Linked DNA regions of Homo sapiens: regions 1, 2, 4 and 5 are each linked to region 3. Evidence: promoter capture Hi-C in 16 types of primary human blood cells and fetal thymus (Javierre and others, 2016). All regions are on one chromosome and are shown on one strand. Each heading gives the region's core, a stretch centred on a gene start or on the middle of the fragment in contact. The rest is flanking DNA. Distances are from core to core; before and after follow the strand shown. Region 1 holds the start of SMC2-DT (SMC2 divergent transcript). Region 2 overlaps AKNA (AT-hook transcription factor). Region 3 holds the start of TMEM245 (transmembrane protein 245). Region 4 holds the start of TNFSF8 (TNF superfamily member 8). Region 5 overlaps ATP6V1G1 (ATPase H+ transporting V1 subunit G1).

Region 1 (4,538 bases), core at 652-3,151, 5.0 Mb before region 3:
TGGGTGAATGAATATAATAACCTCCTTTTCTATTCCTCATTTTAAATTATACTTAGCTGTGTTTCTTTGCAAGTTTGTCAAACAGGTTATATTCGGTGAACCCACAGTTCAAATAATATGGCGTTAGAAATAAAATACAGTCATGCGTTGCCTAACGACGAGATACGTTCTGAGAAACGCCTCATTAGGCAATTTCATTGTTGTGCAAACATCATGAAGTATACTTAACACAAACCTACATATTATAGCCTTATGATTCTAGACTACAAACTTTTATAGCATATTACTGTACTGAATAATGTAGGTAACTATAACACAATGTTGTGTTTGTGTTTCTAAACAGAAAGGGTAGTATGTTGCACTACGATGTTACAACATCACTAAGCAACAGGAATTATCCATTATAATCTTAAGGGACCACAGTCACATAATGTAATCAGACATTGAAATATTATGTGGTGCACGAGTGTATTCAAAAAGTGCTGCCAGGCCACTGCCCTCCAGCCTGAGACAGAGTGAGACTCCTTCTCTGAAAAAATAAAAGTGCTGCTAGTCAATCCAATGTAAAAATATAAACTTCCTGTCATTATCAATTCATTTCCTTGAACCTAAAAATAATCTCTCAACAAAATGAGTCTTCCTTACTTCTGCGGTAAAGTCCTTTCTTTTTTTCTTGTCCTTTGTTCCAAGGAGAAAGGATTCACTCGGGTCCCTGTGAGAAGAGCTTCTTTAGCACTCTAAAATTAGAAAAGTATACCCAGGAGAGAGCAGGTTCCTTCCAGTTCCCTAGGAGAGTAGAGCACCAAATATTTCTCCTAGGTCTTGCTTTGTGGCTGTATGTGTGTCCTTGCTGGTACTGATGATGCCTTCCATATAAGGACTCAGACTCCACTAGCTGCCAGATTTCTGCTTGAAACACTGCCCGCTAGCGTTGAAGCTTTCAAACGATTTTAATCCATGGTGATGAAGCAAGAACAGTGTTTTCTGTACACTGCATCTACCCTATACTCTCTGTTTCTACCCCTCACATCTCCAAATTAGGGGGCTTCACTGGCTTTGTGCCTTGGTTTTTTCCACTCACCTGTGTGATCTCAGGAGGCAGAGTTTCAAGTTAGTCATCAGTGATTTCCTCAAGTCCATTTGTCTTATATTTAGCAGCAATTCCTTAGTGCTTCTGGCACGCAATAAGACTAAAACTGAGAGATCTCCACCTTTATAAGCATTTTTCATTTTAATCAATGGTCTTAATGGGAGTAGTTAGATCTGCACATTCTTCTAACCACCCAGGAGTCCTTATCCAACAACAGTGCACTTGTGTATGTTTTCATCCATGTGACGTAAGTGTATCAGCTAGTTGTTAAAGTGCAAAGACTAACAGTCTGTCTTAACACATATTTCCATACCAAAAAATCACTTTATTTCACAACGTGACAAAGTCCACATTAGGATTTGTTGGCAAATTAAAATTCTTTACTCACAAAATGATAAAAGGAAGGAGACACAGCTCAAAGTTAATGTGTAAGAGTTAACAGAATCAATACAAGTGAATAGCTGTGGAGCCCAGGGGATGCAGGAATCAAGGCAGACAAAGATATCTGTTGAATTAAATTAATGTTAGGTCACTACCCATGGTTGACATCACAGAAGTGGATAAGCATACCAGAGTAAACAAAGGAATCCTTTCTTAAACAAAAAACCCATACAACTTATTTTACTCCCTTATCGAGAAATATTTTCAAAATATAAGCCCATTCCTGGTAGGTTAAGACCAATTCAGATGACTGCATTGCCATTCCAGGGCCAAGAAAGCAACTTTAAAAACATGACCTACGCTATGGTCTAAATGTGTCCCTCAAAATGCACATTTTGAAATCCTAACTCCCGAACTGACGGTTTTAGCAAGTGGCATCTTGGGAAGTGAGGAATGGGATTAAGGTCCTTATAAAATAGGCCCAAGCGAGGGCCTCTGCCTCTCCACCATGCGAGGACAGAGCCAGAAGGTGCTATCCACTAAAGAGAAAGCACCCCTCCCTAGACACACCTTATTCTGTGACATTCCAGCCTTCAGAAATGTGAAGAATAAACTTCTGTGGTTCATAAACTACCCAGTCTAGGATATTTTGTTATGGAAGCCCAAAAGGATCAAGCCATTCCAAAATAGCATTGTTGCCCACACCATCTTTTTGAACCTCACTTAGGGTAACACCATACCCATTCGGAGTTAAGCCCTTCCTAACTCTTAAGTATCAACGTGCTTGGAAACGTGAGCAATCCTGACACGTTTTTTCTTCCTAAAGAACAATACATACTAATAATAGGATCGGCTAATAATACTAGATTCTATGCATGAAGCCTAGTATTTAAAAGCATGCAATCTGGAGCTAGACCGCCTGGGAACAAATCCCAGCTTACTAGACAAGCTGTTTAACCTTTTACTTGGTCTCATTTAACTCATTTGTAAAACGAGGGCAATTTCTGATTTCATAGGGTTGCTACGTGGATTTTAAAAAGCCCCTTGCAATATAGCCTAATATTCAGAACTCAATAACATGAACTGTCTTAAAAGGTTTCCAGAAAAAATCCCCAACAGGTTAGGTCGGCTTATCATTACAACGCTTTCCGGTATAAGGGAGATGAATAGCTATTTAGCACCACACAATTTCTCCTCTGGGCTCGGAACAGCTCTCGGTAGACTACGATCCCTTTCCGACGTGGAAACTTCAGATAAAAACGCTCCCCGAGGTCCGAGGCCAGTACGGGGCGGAGCCAGGACGCGGGCCAGAGTCCCCCGAAGGACGGTGCCTCTCTGGCCCCAAGAAGTACAGCTTTTATTTTGCAGCAATCTGAGCCAACCCGAGAAGATTCTGAAGCTTCCAAAACAGAACCGACGAGAACACTCATAGAATGCCTCTCCACTTCCTAACTGTCGCTTTGAGGAGAGAAAAGTAAGCCACAGCCAGCACCGCAGACTGGAGAAGGCGGAGTCTGCAGTGTGCCTAACGCGAACTAGAGGGACCGAGGCGGGGCGGGGCTGGCGAAGCGCGAGGACCCGGGGCCGAGGTGTGGGGCTGACCATAGAGTGCCGGACGCCGGTGTGAACATACACTATCTGCTCCTGTAGTGCCCAGGCCCCTGCCGGGGAGTCCCCGGAGCTACCATTATCGAGACTCTCATTCTATTGCCCTGCGGCTTTAATCCTTCGAGTGTAGGGGAAAAATTGAACCCTAAAGACAGGCAGCTCCTAGGCACCAGCACAGGAAATAAGCAATGGAGGTGGGGTCCTTTGCTCGCGCCGAAATTCAAAGGAATAAATAGTTCCGGCGCGGGTGTTGAGAGCGGTGTGGCAGGTGTTGTAGCCGCTATGGTGAAGTTCGCTTTGTAGCGGCCCCGGCTAGAGAGTTGTTCTGTTCCCTGCCTTTGTGACCCGGAGGAGCTTTTGGGGTGCGTCAAGCCCCTGGCCTGAGGCAGCGGTGAGGCGTGTGCGTGAGCACGGCCGGTTGGGCCGGGCCAGACTTCCTGGCGGGAGGCGGGAGGCGGGAGGCGGGGCGCGGGGCGCGGGGGCTGTAGGGAGGGGGACCAGTGGCAGAGGGACCTTAGGTGATCCTTAGAAATAAAGGCTAGCTTCTGTTCGACCTTGGAGTAGGGCGAAGAGGTGTAGACAGGCCTGGAGAAGCGAGGTAAAAGCCTGAGTAAAAGCAAGAAGTTGGAGAATATGAGATACATCTCATCTCTAGTAAATACTTAAATGACTTCCCCTCCTCCCGGAGTCAAGCACAATTCGGGGATGCAATGACGGACGTAGGTGAAGACACTGCGGGAACTTACAGACAAGTAATGACCGTCTAATATCAGCTTTAAGTACCATGAAGGAAAAAGAAAGCCGAGTGAAGGATTGTGGAGAGGTGACATAGGGAGGTCAGGGAGGACTCCAGTAAGGTGACATTTGAGCAAAGACGTGAGTGCAGTAGAGAGTAAGCTATGTCAGTATCAGAGAAAAGCACATTATAGGCAAAGATAATGGGATATGTAATAATCCATAGTCTTTGTTTAGGTAGAGTATGATAAAAGTAGAAGGCAAGCCTGGAAAAACGGGTAGAAGAAATAGTTAAGACTTCCCAGTTGAATGGTTTAATTTCCAGATAGTGGCTAACTCTGGTATATTTTTGAGTAGATGAACGATGTCTTTACATCAGACAAGATAGTTTGTCAAGTGGCTGTTTTATTTCTATCACCCTATCGTTGCTGTTTTTGCCTCGTGTTCATTATGATTCCAGGTTTACATTCCACTTAGGTGGTGGTATTTCTGTTTCGTACAGAACTGGTTTGTGGCCTGTTTGATTCCTGTCAGAGGTTTGCTGACCCAAGACAGTATCGAAAATGCATATTAAGTCAATTATTCTAGAGGGATTCAAGTCCTATGCTCAGAGGACCGAAGTCAATGGTTTTGACCCCCTCTTCAATGCTATCACTGGCTTAAATGGTAGTGGGAAATCCAACATATTGGACTCCATCTGCTTTTTGCTGGGCATCTCCAACCT
Region 2 (4,436 bases), core at 722-3,221, 5.2 Mb after region 3:
TTTGTCCACGTTATCTGTAATTTCAAATTTCAGTACAATGAACCTGGCTAATATGTCATATCCTAAAGGGTTCTGCAAGTTTTTCTATTTGATTTTTCAACCCATGCAGTTCTGTCCAAGTCAGACTCCTGCACTCACCCATCTCGGCTGCCAGTGTCCGCTCCAGGCTGAAGTTGGGTGCCCTCTGCCGGAGAGGCCCACTTGGGCTGGAGAGGTACCTCTGTGCTTGGCTCCGGGGTGTGCTGGGCTCTGTGGCTCTTCTGGGAATCAGAGAACCCCTGGCCTTGGGGTAGGAAGCTCCATCCCTGGGCACAGATGCAGCAAAGGGCTGGGCTAATGTTCCTGCTGTGCTGGGGGACCGTGGAGGAAGGGACACACAGGGGTCACACAGAGTGAGACACTCAGGCGGCAGCATCTGAGCCCCTCCACATGCTAACCCAATAAGCTCCCACCCTTTGTAACTTTGCATCTCGGGTGGTACAATATTTCCAAGGACACACACACATTAGATGCCCAATTCTTTGTAAACTGTTCACTGGCCAACCCAATATGCAAAATAATAAAGCTCAGTTTATGTGTAGAATACATAAAAGAGAAATAGGATTTCTAATCCTTCCTTTGCATGCACCCTTGGGTTGCCATGTGGGCCTCCTGAAGGGCCTGCACCCAGCTTTGGAGGCTCCATCCCTCCACTCTTCACCCCTGTCCCCTCCGCCTTCTCCCTTCCCTTTGGGTTCCATGTAGCCACCCTGAGTGCCCTTTGCCCTTGTCTTCTGTTCACCTCACAGTGCCCTCCCTGTAGTTTTTATTCATTCATCCATTCATTTGCTCAACAAAAATGAATTTCCCAGTCTGTCGCTAATTAGCTATGTGAGGCTGGACTAGTTACTCCCCTCTCTGAAGCTCTGTTTCCTCTGTCCATAACACAGGAACAAGAAATCACGGTTAGGGGATGAAATGAGGGCCTACGAATGGACAGACCATCCTCTCTTATTCTGGGCCATCACAGGCACTGTGATTCCCAGGCTGTCCCAGGAATGTGGCACTGACGGGACAATGGCGGGATCCCGGGATACCTGATGTGGGAGAGCCGGTGCTCTGGAGTCTGGGTGAGGGGTGAAACTCTGCTTGTTTCTGAGCCCACAAAGCCACTGTCTGTCTCTGGGGACGCCATCCAGGTCTCCTGAAAGAGGCAGTATCCCTTTATGTCTGAGGAATGTGTCCAAGGCACACTGGGAAGCCCTTCCCAAATCGTGGCCTGGCCTCACCTCCCAGAGGCTCACACCCCAGGGTTGCTGGCCCAGCTCCCAACAGCCAGGCCCAGGAGTGAGGGCTCTCAGGCTCTCAGGCCTCAGCACAAGAATCTGGCTACCAGCAGGGACTCTGCACCCCAGGAGGACCCTCAGCAAGTGCTGCCTCCCTGAGGGGTGGCAGCCAGAGCCCTTGGGAGAGACAAGGCCATGGACAAGGACTAGCAAGGGGAGAGGGAGAAAGCCTTATTTCCAGTGTCTCCTGGCTTAGGCCTGGAATACTATGGTCTTATCTGACAGTGGAAATGCTCAGGCCCAAGGCATTGGAAAAACGAGACCATCAAATATGTACAGGTCCTACCCGCTGGGTTTAACACACGGCACAGAGAACACAAACAGAGCAACACAGGTGCCTGCCCTCGCTGAGTTCATGTCTAGTGCAGAGAATCCTGACCATGGGCTCGTTAGGACTACAGAAGTGTGTGTGTGTGTGTGTGTGTTTGTGCATAAGTGCACATGCATGCATATATATGCATTATTCTATGACAGTCACATTTCCATAGTGGCCTGTGACTTTGCAGCAGTGATGTCTACTCTAAAGAGCATAGAACTAGTCTCTCCAGCTGTGATGGGCAGGCTCAGAGAAGTATAAGCAATGGGTTGCAAGCTCTCAGAGGAGGAACAAGAGCTCCGGAAGAGGGACAGGTTTGGGGGGTGACACTGAGCATAAGTCCTGCATGTCAGGTGGGATTGTGGCTGGCAGGGACAGGAGCAGCAAGTATTCCAAGAAGGAATAGCACAAGGAAAGACCCAGAAGCAGAAAGTTGAGAAGACCCAGGAATGACCCTGAGGTTCTGGGCCCATTCCCCCATGTGGAGACTTACCTCCAGGTGGGGCCCACCGCCTCGGTGCAAAGGCTTCTGTGGAAGGCGCTCAGAGATGCCGCTTCCCTCCAGGCTGGTCATACTACTTTGGTGGGATGCTGCGGACTTGGTGCCTGGAGGGTGGGGTGGCACGCCAGGGCCTGGAGGGGCTGCCTCAGCCTTGCCCAGGCCTGACATGTGCCCGTCTCTAGCCAGGGATGCCTGGAAACCTGGTGGCTTCATAGATACCATCTTCTCCGTGGCCTCCCTGGCATGGGAAGAGAAGACCATCCTTGAGTTCTGCCAGGCAGCCCTGACGCAGGGGTTGGCCTGTCCTGGGAGCCAAGCAGCCCAGGGCACAAGCTCTGGAGTCAGACATCCCTGGCTGCCCAGCCTGGTTCTGCCACCTTCTAGCTGTGTGACCTAGGGCAAGGCACTTCCCCTCTCTCAACCTCACTTTTCTCAACTATAAAATATGGATGCCAACAAAACCCACCCAACACCAAAGAGGAAATGTTAAAGCAGCATTTCCCAGACTTAAGGAGTTTGCATACCACCTTCCCTATTTCAGTCATTTCCATAAACTTCCATCTACTCCAAAGATTTTAGATCACTATTCAAAACAGAAGATCAGTGTGTCATGTGACAAACAGAAACTAACTTTGAGGATAAATATAAGAAACCTGAATATTATCATATACTAGATAGATCCACTTGCCTGCTAAATGCTCTAGGCCTTGTGTGCTCTCATACTGTCTCTCTCTCTCTTTTTCCACAGAAGTTCAAGAGAGGCATTAAAGACACCACAGCTCTCAGTAAACTATCACAAGGACAAAAAACCAAACACCGCATGTTCTTACTCATAGGTGGCAATTGAACAATGAAAACAAATGGACACAGGAAGGGGAACATCACACACCGGGGGCTGTTGTGGGGTGGGGGGAGGGATAGCATTAGGAGATATACCTAATGTTAAATGACGAGTTAATGGGTGCAGCACACCAACATGGCACATGTATACATATGTAACAAACCTGCACGTTGTGCACGTGTACCCTAAAACTTAAAGTACAAAAAAAGAAAAATAAAAAAGACACCACAGCACTAACTGAGACTTTCTCCTTGGCATCATTAGAAGGTCAGAGACAGAAAAAGAGAATGATATTCTTTTTTCTTTTTTTTTTTTTGAGACAGGGTCTCACACTATCACCCAGGCTGGAGTGCAGTGGCCCGATCTCAGCTCACTGCAACCTCCGCCTCCTGGGCTCAAGAGATTCACCTGCTTCAGCCTCCCAAATAGCTAGGGCTATAGGCGTGTACCACCATGCCTGGCTAATTTTTGTATTTCTTGTTGAGATGGGGCTTTGCCGTTTTGCTCAGGCTAGTCTTGAACTCCTGGACTCAAGTGATCCACCTGCCTTGGCCTCCCTCAATGCTGGGATTACAGGCATGAGCCACTGTGCCCAGCTGAGAATAATGTTCTTTAATACTGCATGTGTCCTACTGAAAATCATGTCCCACACTACCCAAAATCATTTCAAGGGCTATCAGTGGTATACATTCCACACTTGAAGAGGCAGGACAGGTAAGCCATGTCTAAACTGTGAAGCGCTGTCTTATTCACTCTGACAGTGATCATCCCTGTGGTTTTAGGGTGGAAACAAACATTCTGCAGGAAAGGCTCAGTGACTTACTCCAGGGGAGCCCCATGACTTTTCTCAGCCTGCACCGGGCACTGCCTTGGGAGGACCCTGGTGGCCTCTGCTTTCCCTGGAGTTGCAGCCACCCCATCAACTTCCAGGGAGTCACCTCCCCCCTCTTCCTCCTCCTCCTCCTCTCCTTCTTCCTCCTCCTCCATTCTCATGGCTTCTGGGAGAGACTTCACACTGAGGTACCTGCAGAAGAACACACAGAGGGGCATGACCTCTGCCCAGTGGGGGACAGCCAAGATCCAGCTGCTGGCCAGACACCCTGGTCAGGTCCAGGTGGCACTCACCGCTCCATGAGGCCATGGTAAACTTGCTCCATCTGCAGCTCCTTGTGCCTGAGTCGGGCCAGGGGGTCCTGTGGCCTGTCCTCCACCTCACTGTTGCCAGAGCTCACCTCCACATTTACGTGCAATGGGCAGGGGCCAGTGCTGGCGGCGGCAGTGGTGGTAGCAGGCTGGGGTCAGAAAGATGGACAGACAGAGATTCAGCAGATAGTTAAACACCACTTTTAAGCACTTACCTCCTGCCAGGCTCGAGCTGTGGGCTGCGGGGTAAGAAGCACATTAGACTCACTAAGCCCACCACCCTTTTATGTATGTGTAAACTATGGAGAC
Region 3 (4,226 bases), core at 1,625-4,124:
CTCCCAACACTTGAGCCAAACAGCTGAATTTCAAGGTTTTTTTGGTTTTTTTTTGAGACGGAATTTCACGCTTGTCACCCAGAATGGAGTGCAGTGGTGCAATCTTGGCTCACTCCAACCTCTGCCTCCCGGGTTCAAGTGATTCTTCTGCCTCAGCCTCCCAAATAGTTGGGATTACAGGTGCCCACCACCACACCCAGCTAATTTTTTTTTTTTTGTATTTTTGGTAGAGACGGGGTTTCACCATGTTGGCCAGGCTGGTCTTGAACTCCTAACCTCAGGTGATCCACCCGCCTCGACCTCCCAAAGTGCTGGGATTACAGGCGTGAGCCACCGCGCCCGGCCAATTTCAAGCTTTTAAAAAATCATTAATTAGTTTGACCTTCTTTCTCCCACTCCCAGGTCTAATCAGTGTTGGCCCCTACTTCTCTTCCACTCATCCACAACCCACAAATGAAATACAAAGATGAGGGTTTATCTTCAGTAAAAAGATACTCAAAGGTATACGCCGAGCTGTGGATGTTTCTTTACAAGTGCTCAACTCTTTCCACTGAGTATCTGAGAGAGACTGGTAGAAATGCCTCATAATCATGCCAAATTACTTAGGTATTCAACTTCTTACTCTAGCATGAAAATATACTATTTACATGTGGCAGGCCTTTCTTTTCTACTTTCCTATAGTTTGATGGATATGCTCCTTGAGCAGTATCAACAGTCAAAAATGTTAGCAGAATCTATAAATGTGTCTTTGACAAAACTGAATTTCTTCAGGAAAATAACCAAGCTTATTTTTCTTAGAACATAGTGTTCTGCCTTCTAGCTAAGAAGCATTCGATCCACTTAACTGAATTGTGAAACTGCAAGATAAAGGATAAAGAGCGCTGAACTGGGCCTCCATAAAAGTGAACCACAGATTTGCTCATGAGCTGTGTGACTTTGGACCAATCACATTCTCTGGGCCTGTGGCCCACAACGGATGAGTCATGAACATTTATCTGTATGTCTGTCATCTCCATTAGAATATGTTCATATAGGATTATATGTACCGTGAAGACGGGACCTGTATCTTAGTCCTTTTTTAAACCTCTCACAAAGCCCAACACCTAACATATGCTCGATCAACTTTAAACATGAACCAAGAGGTGGTATTGAGGGAACAAGAGAAGAAGGGTGTTTTGGGTCATTCATCACTCTGCCAATAACCTCAGGCAAGCCAAAACACCGCTAGACAGATAAGGGGAATTAATATTTTCCAACTTAATGACGTCAAGGTACACTGAACTTTATTTCACTGACAAAAGAAGTGAATCAATTTGTAAATGGTACTGTTTATGAATCAATTGGCATTCTTACGCACTAAATCTCCACTTGTTTTTAACAGTCTCCAGTTAAATATGTGGATAATTAACTAGTCCACAATATAGTCTGAGTTAGGAATTGTGTCACTAGATTACCTTTGAAATCTTTCCAATTCTAAAGCTCCCTGGTTTTGTAAGAGTAAGCTCAGGTTAATCCAAGCATCACAAATCTACGTCTCTCCCCTTCACGCGGTCAGCTGCTTTACTCCAGGCGGGAGGAGGTGTGCTGTGGTACACCAGTCCCTGCACAACAAAAGCAGTTACCTAAAAGTAAAGCGTGGAGAGGAAGAAGCACAGGCAGCTCAGCACCCAGTGCCTTGCACAAATTATACAGGAATCACCTGAACTGAGAGGCAGCACCAGCCAGTGAAGCAAGCTTTGTTTTAGGACTTGTAAGAAATCTAAGACACCCAAACCCCTCTTTGTCCCTAAGTAGCCCTAGCCTGGTAAGAGGTCACCTTTCCTATCTGCAGGATGGCAAGTTGGCCTAGAATCTCTAAGGTCCCTTCCAGCTCTGACATTCAGATGCGCAGAACTGAGGGTGGCCGAAGCACCCCCGCCCTCTCCAACCAGAAGTAAAACCAAGCCCCACTGCCATGCTCTGAGGCCTCTCTCTGCAAAGCGAAATAACGATTCTCAATCCAGGGCACTGTCCCCCTAAGAGGGCCTATTAGGATTGAAACAAGGCGAAAAGCAGGGAGGCTGTTTCAAATCACGCCCGCCCCCTTTTTGGAAGAATGTCCGCCAAATTCCTGAGGTGTGAGAAGGAAAGCGGAGACGGACGGTCACTGCAGCACAGGTGTGGCCCCTCGTCGCCCCTGCACCGGGAGGAACAGCTGCAGGATTGCACCCCAGAGCGCCGGGACCACGGGCGGGGGACGGGGGCGGACTGCCGCTCACTCACCCACAGGCTGCTGAAGTAGTCCAGCCCGCGGCAGATGAGCGTGGCAGCGTGCACCAGCAGCACCTGCACGCCCAAGTAGCTGCCGAGGCAGTAGAGGCCGTACAGGAGCGGGCCGCCGGCGCCGAGCAGCAGGAGCAGGCGGCGGCGGCGCAGCGCCTGCTCGCCCAGGGCCTCGACGCCGTAGTCGACGAAGCAGAGCGGCAGGAGCAGCGCGGCCAGGACGATGGGCGTGTGCGCGCGGTGCAGGCGCTGCAGCCAGTGGCGGCCCAGGCGCGTCAGCGAGCTCTTGAAGGGGTGCAGAAAAGTGCCGCATAGCACGGCCCAGAGCAGCGGCCGCAGGAAGGCCTCCAGGATGAAGTAGACCAGCACCGCGGCGCCGCAGCACAGGCACACGAACAGCACGGCCCCGGTGTTGTAGAAGGCCTGCTTAATGGGCTTGTCGAAGCGCAGCGCCAGCGCCGCGGTCCGCGGGGTCTCCCCGCCACCGCCACTCGGCCCGACCGCGCGCGGGACCCGCGGCGCCGGCCCGGGAGAGCTCCGCAGGCTTGGCGCGTCCTTAGGGCCGCCGCCGTCGGCCATCGTTCCTCCGCCACAGCCGCCCCCGAGGGGCGGTAATGGGAGTCGGGCTAGAAACGCGGGCGGGAGGCAGGGCGGGAGGCGCGCGAGATTGTGGGAGTTGTAGTTCCCCGCTGGTTTACAGACCCACCAAGCGCTTGCAGGAAACTACAACTCCCGAAGGGGAAATGGGGAAAACGCCTCCGCCTCCTTGGTGTCCGCAAGGTCCTGCTAACAAGTTTGCAGGGTCTATATCTTCCTGGAGGGGGGGGGGGGGGGAAGCTCCTTTCACTCATTCGTTAATGTCAATTTCTCGCGAGGCGAGATCCCAAAAGGCGCCACATTCAGATATTAAAACCCAAGCTGCATACTAGAATACCGTGGGGGAGTACTTTTAAAGAACCAATGCCCCGATTCTGTTTTACTGATTTATTTAACAGATATTTTTAAAGTGTTTTCTTTGGTGTATCTGACAGGATTTTAAATAGAGATTACCATATAACAGGCCCTATTCTAAGTGGCTCACTCCTATTAACTCATTTAATCCTTAGAACAACCCTACAAAGAAGGTGTTATTATCCTCATTTTACCAACAGAAAAACTGAGACAGAGCCGTTAAGTACGCAGCCAGAGTCACACAGCTACCAAGTGGCACAGGCAAGATTCAAACTCAGGGATTCTGGCTCCAAAGGCTATACTTTTATCTACCATAGTATTTGGCCTGAGGAAAGAACTCTTGGCATTTTTCAAACGTTCCTCATAAGCCTGTAATTTGCAGCCGCTGTTGACAACTGTTTGTGCAGGTTTCGCTGTGGACGCAATCTAAACTCTTAAAAGAGTCGTAGATCAAAGTCTCAAACTGCCACTGTTTCTTTTTGAGACTTGATGTAATGTCAGTTAAGCCCCCAATCTCAAGTTTTCCTCTGTCACATGGCGATGATAATAATAATAGCTTTTGCTTTAGGGTTATTGTGTGGGGGAAGGGAAACTCTGGGGCGGTACAAGGTGCTTCTGTTCCCCTATTGGAAAAGTGCTGGGATCCAAGCCTGCTACCCATAAAATATCCCAATCAACATTTTGATTTAAAAAAAAAAAGAAAGCCTTGACTGAGTACTCAACATGTGATTGCTTCAAACCTTGCAAGTTGTCCCTTTCCTGTTTCAATAGTATTCCTATTAATTTCTACATAATTTTTGTTTCCCTTCTAAAGCAGACAAGACAGGTAACATAATCCACAGTTTGCAGATAAAGAAACTATTGCTTGATAGATTTGGAGACAAAGGGATTTAGTAAAGGAAGTAAAGGAAAAAGTAATTCCCTATCCATCTCGATTGTAAGTTTTAGGTCTCAGTATTTCAGATGGCCTTTGGAGTTTTATAACCAAAACGCAGGTTTAGTCGCTCACCACT
Region 4 (4,409 bases), core at 1,083-3,582, 5.8 Mb after region 3:
TGGGTCCATTCTTTATATAGTCTTCCCCACATCACACCTTATCTCTCTTCATCTGATTCAGTTCTGGGCCCATCTCTGTTCCAAGAAGGATTCTCCCCCTGAATCCTGAATCATGTGACTTGGAAAAAAACCTTCACCTGCTGCCTGGTGGAGAAACTCTTCTCTGGGGGCGTGAGGCGAGAGGCGGCAGCAAGGGTGGGGGAGAGGTTCATTTTTCATTGCCAGGGATTAAGTTGTGTGCAGAGAAACTAGCTACAGAGAAGGTGGCTGATGTCAGAGGGCGCGTAGGAAAATGACGGTTCCCCGACTGTGTGTGTGTATGTGTGTGTGTGTGTGTGTGTGTGTGCATGCGTGCGCACACACAAAGCAACTTCTGTTTCGTTTAGACTCTGCCACAAAACGCCTTCCTGTTCAAGAAGCTGCACCTTCTTTCAGCGAGGCCTGTGGCTCAGAAGACCTCCCCAGATAATGAGTCCTTGCTGGGTCTCAGGGAGGCCGGATCCCTCGGACTGCAGTGTAATAACTCCAAAGGGTTCGGTTTGATAGGCTACTGCTGAAAAAGGGACATGCTGCAGGTTCCCTGGGGGAAAAAGGGCACACAAATGGAGATATTTCTCCAAAGGGGGACTGGCTCATGGCAGTATGAAATTTGGGGTTCAAAGATACTGTCAGAAAGCAGGAATCTGGAAATATCAATCTTTTGAACAAACACTCCTGCAGAAGTTTTGGGATCTGTTAAACTGGCAGATGAACCTGGACCTGCCGTAAAACTCATGAAGAGGGGAAGGAATTGGCAGTGAGATGGTGTGGTGTGGAATATGGGGGCTGTGTGTGTTCTGCGTGGTGTACTATGTAGTGTGTGTGTATTTGTGGTATGGGGGTATGTGTAGGTGTTGTGTGTTCTCTATGGTATATGTATGCAGTGTGTGTGTGGTGTGCATTTGTGATCTGCAATGCATGCCGAGTGTGGTGCGTATGTAAGTGTTGTGTGTGGTGTGTATGTATGTGTTGTGTGTGGTGTGTTGTGTCTTGTGTATGTATGTGTTGTGTGTGTATGTGACTACTATAATTGAACCTCTACTGTCTCAGGCACAGCGCTAGGAGTTACATGTGGCTTCATTCCACTTCCACCTCCACCCTCCGAGGCAGGCAATGTTTATTTTTTACAGATGGGAAAACTGAGGCTCAGGGAGGATGAAAACTATCTCAACCTAAGTCGCAAGTGTCGATCACTGAAAGAACTTGGGTGCACTTTGCAGCCTGCCTGGCTGAAAGCTCGTGCTAAGTCATTCAATCTTCACTGCACCTGAAAGCTAAAACCTGAAGTGTGGTCTCAGCCCTTTCCCTTCTTAGCCTTGGGCCATCATACAAGTCTTTATGGCTTTCTCTGTTCCCAATCTGCATTACAGTCATCAGGAAGACCAAGCGAGATGATGTCAGAGTACTCCATGAATAAAAATAGATTTGGGGATGGTGTTGGACAATTCCTGTTAAACATCCCAAGCTGTCTACTGGGCTAAGTCTGGAATTTAGATACAATAGACAGATTACCTGGGGGACAGAGTCAGATCACATCTGTGGTTACTAATGATCTCCATTTCAAAATACCGTTTAAAATGTTAATCACTGCATAGCTGCTGCCTCCAGATGTGGGCCTTTGAAAGCTCCATTTGGTATCACCGTGGAAGAAGCTCATTCTGCATAGCACCTCCTTTCCTTTCTGCTCACTTTTTGTCTGCAGCGCATCACTTTGAGCCAGCAGAGATCCCAGATGCCCCTAAGGAAACGTCCTGTGTCTAAAGCCAAGCTTGGATTATTACCACTGCTGTTCTTGCATAGAACCAAAACTTCTGAGCATCTCCCAAATTAGATCAGGCTTTAGGATTTGGTCTGGATATTTCCTCCCAGTGAGTCTGTAAAAGCATAGATCCTGGAGACGAAAGAGACATCAAGAGATAAATTGTTTTCTTGGGCTAAATAGAGTGGGGGGCGATATACCCATTTTACAATCAAGGAAACCGAGGCCCCCGTGATCCCAATTGAGTTTGGTTTTGAAAACAGTGTGTTCACGTTCGTTTGGTCCGGTAATTAAGGTGGGAACGAGGCAAGCCAGTGTTTTCTGGGGCATGTACCTGGCTGATTTGGGGAGAAGGCTGTGTCCTCTGGTGGGCACGGACAGTGAGTGGGTAGCAAGGGCTCTGTGGTCTGCCCAGAGTTGCTGAGAACCAGCTGCTCCCTTGGCCCTCTTGTTCAGCCTCTTTGATCAAAGTGGAAAACTTCTGATTGTTGAATGGAAGCTGTGGGTGTTGAAAAATAAAAAGGCTTTGCTTGAAGTTCGGGTCTTCCTGAAGGCCTGTGGGGCTGAGAAGGGCAGTGGAAAAAAATGTTTGTCTTACAGTTACCCGTTTTGCATACAATACAATGTCCTGGGAGGGAAGGCTGACAAGGGGGAAAAATCACCCTTTGTTTTTACTCAACTTTCTGAGCAGTTGAGATTTTCGGATCAGTTCCTAGTACAGTAGTTTGTGGGCTCAATTCATTCTTTTGCTGTGACACTCCTCTACTCACAAACCTTCAGTGGCTCCCTATTTCCCACCCCCATTGCTCTAAGCCCCTCTCTGCTTTCCAGCTGTTCTAGAATCTAGCCTGGCCAACATAGAAATCCATGACCTGTGCTAACTGGCTTCTTTCTGTCTTCTACTCAAGCTGTACGATGTGCAGATGGAAGGAGCCTTTATAGAATTTCTTGTTGAGTAAGTTTTAAATCCTTTCTGGAAGCAAAGCTGTATAAGGAATATAAAAACATAAGAAAACAGGGCTGCTTTGGCTGAAGCACAGGTGGGACAAAGAGAAGGGCTAAGCTTCACCTGCTCATTTGCCCTTTTCTGGCATGGGGTCTCTCCAAGGTGAATAAAATTTAGAAACTTCAGAAAATTTGGCTTGAATCCTTCATTCCACAAAAGGAGGAAACTGGGACACAGAAATGGGAACAACTAAAGGAAGTACATACCATCAGGGAGAGAGACAGGTGTAAGAGTCCCTTCTGCTCATTCTCTCTCCTTTTTTTTTTTTTTTTTTTTTTTTGACTGAGTCTCGCCCTGTCACCCAGGTTGGAGTGTAATGGCGCAATCTCGGCTCACTGCAACCTCTGCCTCCTAGGTTCAAGTGATTCTCCTGCCTCAGCCTCCTGAGTTGCTGGGATTACAGGCACACACCCCTAGGCCTGGCTATTTTTTTTTTTTTTTAATCTTTTGTAGAGATAGGGTTTCACCATGTTGGCCAGGCTGGTCTTGAACTCCTGACCTCGTAATCTGCCTGTCTCGGCCTCCCAAAGTGCTGGGATTACAGGCATGAGCTACCGCACCCAACCCCCTCTGCTTGCCCGGCCCTCTCTGCTCATTCTCATGTCGGCTCTGCTAATATTCCAGGTGCATCCAGGCTTCCTCTCGTGTTTTACTTGGCTTTCCACTGCTCCTGTTCTTCCTCTCCCTTCCAGCCTTTGCCAACCCGCCTCACCATCTCCAGGAATGCTTGCCCAGATCTCTCAAGTCCACCAACACCCTCTCTGGAATGCCTCTATTTTCATGCCACATAACCTAATTGTCTAATTATCTACTTCTCTTGATGTGGAACCCAAGTGTGTAAACACATGTAAATGTTGCCTTGCTCATAAGATGAGAGTCCCTGAGGGCGGTCTGCACTTTCCTAGTCTTCTAAGTCCTTGCATCCCACCTTGCGTTTCTTGCTGCTGGTCATATATGCAGGGTTGACCTTCAATCTATGCTTCATGTTTATGGAAAGAGAAAGTTCTAGAAGAGTGGCTTATGTAAAGGAATTGTGTGGTGGCATTCTTGCCTCTCTCTTCTCAACTGTACTCCGTGTCTCTATCTTTCTCCAGAGAATGGCCTCATGAGAGTGACCACCCAGCCTCCTTTCAGCCTGGAATTGGCTGCTGAGATGTGGCTGCAGTGCCTGAGACTCAGTGGGCAAATAGAACTAACGTCTCATCCCTTCAAGAAGGAAAGCCATTTTGAAAAGTAAAGGGAAGCCAGCAGTAGCCATTCCTCCAACATTGCTTTCCTGTATAAGGGACTGGGAGATCTCTGTTGTAGAGACTAGAGGCCTTCAGGTGTAAGCCCACACCAGCAGTGGCAGCAGTAGCACCTGGGAACTTGGTGCCACTTTAAGACCCTCTAGACCTACTCTAATTCAGAAACTCAGGCTGGGGTCTGGTAGTCTGTTTTAACAAAGCACCCCAGGGAATGCAGATGCCTGAGACCATTTGAAAAACACTGATTTAGGGAAACAATCTCCAAGAGATCATCTGGTCCAAAATTTAGCCTTTGGACAGGTAAACTACCACCTCCATTGTGTAGGTAGGGAAACTGAGGCATAATAAAAGTTATTGT
Region 5 (4,557 bases), core at 618-3,117, 5.5 Mb after region 3:
TCATCCTTCTAAAATGCAAATATGTGACTTCCTGCTGGTAAGGAACAAAATAAATAAATAAGTGCAGATATGATTTCCCTACCGCCTTTGTAGTCAGACGTTTAGTTCCTGCAGAAGAAAGCTCAAATTCCTTAATGAAGTTGGGGAGGCTCTTGTGGGTCAGGCCTGGTGCTTTCCTCCAGCTATACTGAATCGTTGTGGTCCCTCAGAAGCAGCATGATGTCTTTCACCTGCAGGTTTTTGCACACGCTGTTTCTTCTGACGTGAGAAGCCTTTTCCAATTCTCCTCCCCTTTGTTCTCTGACCCTTAGTCTTCCATCAGACCTCAATTTAGGAAACACTTCTTCCCGGGAAGCCTTTCCTGACTCATGCTTGTCCCCCGGACTAGGCTTGGAGTCCCTCCCAAGTGCTGATTTCTGCCACTGCCGTGCAATAACCTGTTTGTTTATATGGCTCAGTCACTAGACTAAGCTTCTGGAGAACAGAAACTATGTCTCATTTAACTTTATGTATCCAGTTTCCCGTCTGGTGAGAAAGATGCTTCTATCCCTATTTTACAGATAGTAAAAATGAGGCTCAGAGAGAAATGATTTATCCATACCCTGGGAAGCAACATAGTTGGGACTCAGAAGCCTCTTTTTCCATGCAAGGCGAAGATACTGATCTTAGTAATTCCTTGGTGTTTCTCCTAGTATAGGAGTTATTCTATCTGACATCCAACTAGATTTCAAGCATGTCTCCTCTACTTGTGCAGTTAGGGGTTGTGTGGTACTTGGAAAGCTTTCTTTGAGGGTGTTGGGAATGAGAAGAAGCCTTTTGTTCTTGCTCCGGTGACTGGAAAGTTCTTTGTTCTTCCCAGAATATTTCCAGTCATGCCCTTGATAGTGTATTTCCAGAATGACTTCTCACAGTTTGTGTTCTGATGGCTCATCAGTAACAGAAGTTGTATCTGTCGGGAGGGATAGGAGAATAGATTGGGGAAGTGCAGGAAAAAATGCTTGGAATAGGTAAGAATAATTCTGAGTGCCCTAGCCAGGTAGGATTTATGTTTTATACCTTTATCCTGTCAAGCCTGGTGCAGGGTTTTGTATATGTCAGGTAGCTGTGAATTGGTTTTAAAAAGTATTAATTTGGCTGGGCGTGGTGGCTCACGCCTGTAATCCCAGCACTTTGGGAGGCTGAGGTGGGTGGATCACCTGAGATCAAGAGTTTGAGACCAGCCTGGGCAATATGGAGAAACTCCGTGTCTACTAAAAATACAAAAGTTAGCTGGGCGTGGTGGTGTGCGCGTGTAGTCCCAGCTACTTGGGAGGCTGAGACAGGAGAAACGCTTGAACCCAGGAGGCAGAGGTTGCAGTGAGCGGAGATCTGTCCCACAGCACTCCAGCCTTGGGGACAGAGGGAGACGCCGTCTCAAAAAAAAAAAAAAACAAAAAACAAACCAAAGTATTAGTTTATGGCTTACATACTTCTCAGATTTTTTTTTTTTTTTTTGAGACAGAGTCTCACTCTGTCACTCAGGCTAGAGTGCAGTGGCACCATCTTGGCTCACTGCATCCTCCACCTCCAGAGTTCGAGATTTTGTGCCTCAGGCTCCCAAGTAGCTGGGATTACAGGTGCCTACCACCATGCCCATCTCTACTAAAAATACAAAAACATATAAATTAATACATAAATAAAAAAATAAATTTTTGTATTTTTAGTAGAGACAGTGTTTTACTATGTCGGCCGGGTTCTTCTCAAACTCTCGGCCTCCCAAAGTGCTGGGATTACAGATATGAGCGACTGCGCCTTGCCTGTCTCAGAATTGTTAATAGTTAGGAACAGAGAGGTAGTCAGAAGAACTGCAGTTTGAAAATTTGCCTTTCTTGATTTATAATTATGGTTGATTTGCCCAGTTAAGAGTTGGGAAGAGGCAGTATATAAAATGATCCCATCCAGTTTTTTTAATGAAATCATTGAGTTGGACCTTAAATTTTTTTTATTATTTTTTATTTTATTTTATATATTTTGTTTATTTATTTTTTTGAGATGGATTCTCGCTCTGTCGCCCCCAGGCAGGAGGGCAGTGGCGTGATCTCGGCTCACTACAATCTCTGCCTCCCAGGTTCAAGCGATTCTTCTGCCTCAGCCGCCCGAGTAGCTGGGACTACAGGTGCCTGCCACCATGCCCGGCTAGTTTTTGTGTTTTTAGTAGAGACAGGGTTTCACCATAGTGGCCAGGTTGGTCTCGAACTCCTGACCTTGTGATCTGCTCACCTTGGCCTCTCAAAGTGCTGGGATTACAGGCGTGAGCCAGCGCGCCCGGCGTGGACCTTAAAATTTTAAAAAAGTTTGTGTTAATGGCATATTTCATTGGAGTGAAACAAAACACTGGCTCCCATATGTAAGGCCCAAGAAGAACAAGATTTAAGAGAAATACGATTTTCTGTTTAAATATTTTTGATTTTTAGAGGCCCCTGTCAAAATTGAATGTTGAAGATGTTTGCCAAAGGCAGTAAATGGTATTATCCTGAGTTATAAATGCAGGGAGCCATGGGAGTTGGGAGGTGATGTCTTGTGAAATCATGCGGAGCTACTGCATAATGTTCAGGCCATGAGTGTTATTTATAGATTGTTGGTTTCGAAAGTATCTTTAGCTTTGAAATACAGCCCATTATAGCTGATGGGAAGATAGCATGTGAAGGATTGGGGTACAGGTGGCCGAAGCAGACAGTAGTAGGCCAGAAATAATACTGGAGTGAATGTGGACTTGCAGAAATAGTTCTTGGAGTTTTGAGAGAGAGACCTGTTAATTGTTTCAGACTAGCATCAGGGAATGTTGATGTCATGGGGTCATTTCATTACAGGTCCAAAGTTCTGTTCTGAATCAGGATGTGGAAGGTTAAGTTCATTTTCACTCATTCGCGTGGACTCTAGACAGTTGGTATACAATGATGTACAGTGTTGTATAACAAAGCTTAATTTTAGATGCAGGATGTCTTTTGCTCTCAAATAAATAGGTTGATGGTCTAGAACCTCTCTTTTTTTTTTTTTATTGGTGAGCGGAGACTCAAAGCAGAGATTATATGTTGGCTGTCCTTGTGGTCTGTTTTCATGTAGACTCTGACCAAACCTAGAGATTTTTTCCAGCTGTATGTTAAGCCACTCACTTCTAGAAACCAAAATACCTGTGTCTCCTCTTCTCTCAGCCACTTGTGCAGTCTTACTGTCCAGTACTCCTCATTCAGCATTCCTTCTCAGTCACCACTGTCCTTACTTCCTTGTGACAGGGACTGCTTTTAGTTTCCAGTGTTACATTATATAGTTGGTTCATTAGTTACATTATATGTTGCTGTCCCTTGCGAGCTTATTAGCCTTCTTGCTAAGCATCTGAGTAGGGTTGCACCTTTAATCAGCAGCATACTTAAGGTGTTTACTTCTGGAGAAGAGTTCCCTAGATGGTTAATGTTACTCATTTTATGTTGGTTCTTAATAGTTGAGATTGAGAGAATATTCTGACACATTCTACAATTTTTTTCCATCTTTTTAATGGGCTGTAGTTACAGAAGGTATTCATTTTTGTCTTGTCACTTCCTAGTTAAGTACAGCCTATAGGAGGGAGGAACCTGTACTGTTTGTTAGCTCTGAATTCCCTCTTTCCCATGCACATCTCTTCGGACTGTGTCATAATTTATTCTTGGCTTATTGTTATAATATACCATCTTGTCTCTGCTTGCTTTTCTACTTTTAACCACTTCCTGATATAGCTCTCTCCTTTGAAAACAGGAAAGAACCGGAGGCTGAAGCAGGCCAAAGAAGAAGCTCAGGCTGAAATTGAACAGTACCGCCTGCAGAGGGAGAAAGAATTCAAGGCCAAGGAAGCTGCGGTGGGGCACCATTTGTTTTTGTTACTGCTTTAGTTTCTGATCCCCTGTCCCGCCAAGGCTTTCAGAATATCCAGCATAGCTCAGAGATCCTGGTCGAAGTTTGAAAATGTGGTAGCTGTGTGTTTTATTGGCTGCTCAGGCATCTGTCTTTTAGGATGATCAGTTTTTCCATTCATATTGATTTCTAATTTTCATTTATTCACTCATTTAACACGTATCTGTTAAGCAGTTAACATGCGCCAGGTACTGTGCTAGATGCTAGGGATCAGTTGTGACCAGGAATAGACATGGTCCCTTCCCTCATGGAGTGTAGCTTACCATCCAGTGGTCAGGGAGACTCAGTAATACAGTGCAAATCATGCAGAGCTACTACTGAAAAATGCTGTGACGGTCATAAACATAAATCAAATGGAGCCCCACTTTAGTATATTGTATATAGTACAGACATTTACCAGTGATGTAGGCTATACTATGGTGCATACAATAATAGTACAAAAACAGATCACAGAAAGCATAGAGGAGGCAGGGACAATTGTGGAAAGGGGAAAGGATGGATAAGGGCCTCACAGAGAAAAGAAACTATCAGGACTCTTGGGTGCAGGTAACAAAATATAATTAAAACTGATTCTAAATGGGATGTATTGGCCTATATAATTAAAAACCCAAGAGCTTAAATAATATGCTCAGG

Evidence for each region. Contacts are between HindIII fragments. The CHiCAGO score rates a contact against its expected background, and 5 or more counts as called.
Region 1: a contact is called between a fragment that was not itself captured here and the fragment with the promoter of TMEM245 in region 3, in 2 of 17 cell types (fetal thymus and activated CD4 T cells). The highest score is 8.8, in fetal thymus.
Region 2: a fragment that was not itself captured here is called in contact with the fragment with the promoter of TMEM245 in region 3 in 1 of 17 cell types (activated CD4 T cells); the score reaches 5.4 in activated CD4 T cells.
Region 4: a contact is called between a fragment that was not itself captured here and the fragment with the promoter of TMEM245 in region 3, in 1 of 17 cell types (non-activated CD4 T cells). The highest score is 5.6, in non-activated CD4 T cells.
Region 5: a contact is called between a fragment that was not itself captured here and the fragment with the promoter of TMEM245 in region 3, in 2 of 17 cell types (naive CD8 T cells and non-activated CD4 T cells). The highest score is 8.0, in naive CD8 T cells.

What each region holds. Positions count from the first base shown.
Region 1 is chr9:104,091,008-104,095,545 of GRCh38, forward strand. SMC2-DT (SMC2 divergent transcript) reads right to left here and starts at 1,467. Exons shown (of 3, transcript NR_121580.1): 1 at 1,082-1,467. SMC2 (structural maintenance of chromosomes 2) reads left to right here and starts at 3,302. Exons shown (of 25, transcript NM_006444.3): 1 at 3,302-3,470; 2 at 4,317-4,538. The coding sequence starts at 4,378. RefSeq lists enhancers at 2,585-3,254, 2,717-3,036, 3,255-3,922. The HindIII fragment of the contact is 1,933 bases long and covers 936-2,868 here.
Region 2 is chr9:114,355,787-114,360,222 of GRCh38, forward strand. It overlaps AKNA (AT-hook transcription factor), which reads right to left. Exons shown (of 22, transcript NM_001317950.2): 10 at 4,110-4,276; 11 at 3,808-4,008; 12 at 2,135-2,381; 13 at 1,077-1,183; 14 at 139-350. Among named protein-coding and RNA genes, the nearest start is that of ORM2, 28 kb to the left of the region's middle. The HindIII fragment of the contact is 7,176 bases long and covers 1-4,436 here.
Region 3 is chr9:109,117,073-109,121,298 of GRCh38, forward strand. TMEM245 (transmembrane protein 245) reads right to left here and starts at 2,875. Exons shown (of 18, transcript NM_032012.4): 1 at 2,263-2,875. The coding sequence starts at 2,841. RefSeq lists silencers at 2,205-2,314, 2,665-2,834, 2,975-3,024 and an enhancer at 2,505-2,554. The HindIII fragment of the contact is 5,277 bases long and covers 1,733-4,226 here.
Region 4 is chr9:114,930,295-114,934,703 of GRCh38, forward strand. It overlaps TNFSF8 (TNF superfamily member 8), which reads right to left and starts at 297. Exons shown (of 4, transcript NM_001244.4): 1 at 1-297. The coding sequence starts at 9. The HindIII fragment of the contact is 1,054 bases long and covers 1,806-2,859 here.
Region 5 is chr9:114,588,784-114,593,340 of GRCh38, forward strand. It overlaps ATP6V1G1 (ATPase H+ transporting V1 subunit G1), which reads left to right. Exons shown (of 3, transcript NM_004888.4): 2 at 3,769-3,869. Among named protein-coding and RNA genes, the nearest start is that of ATP6V1G1, 3.3 kb to the left of the region's middle. The HindIII fragment of the contact is 2,179 bases long and covers 779-2,957 here.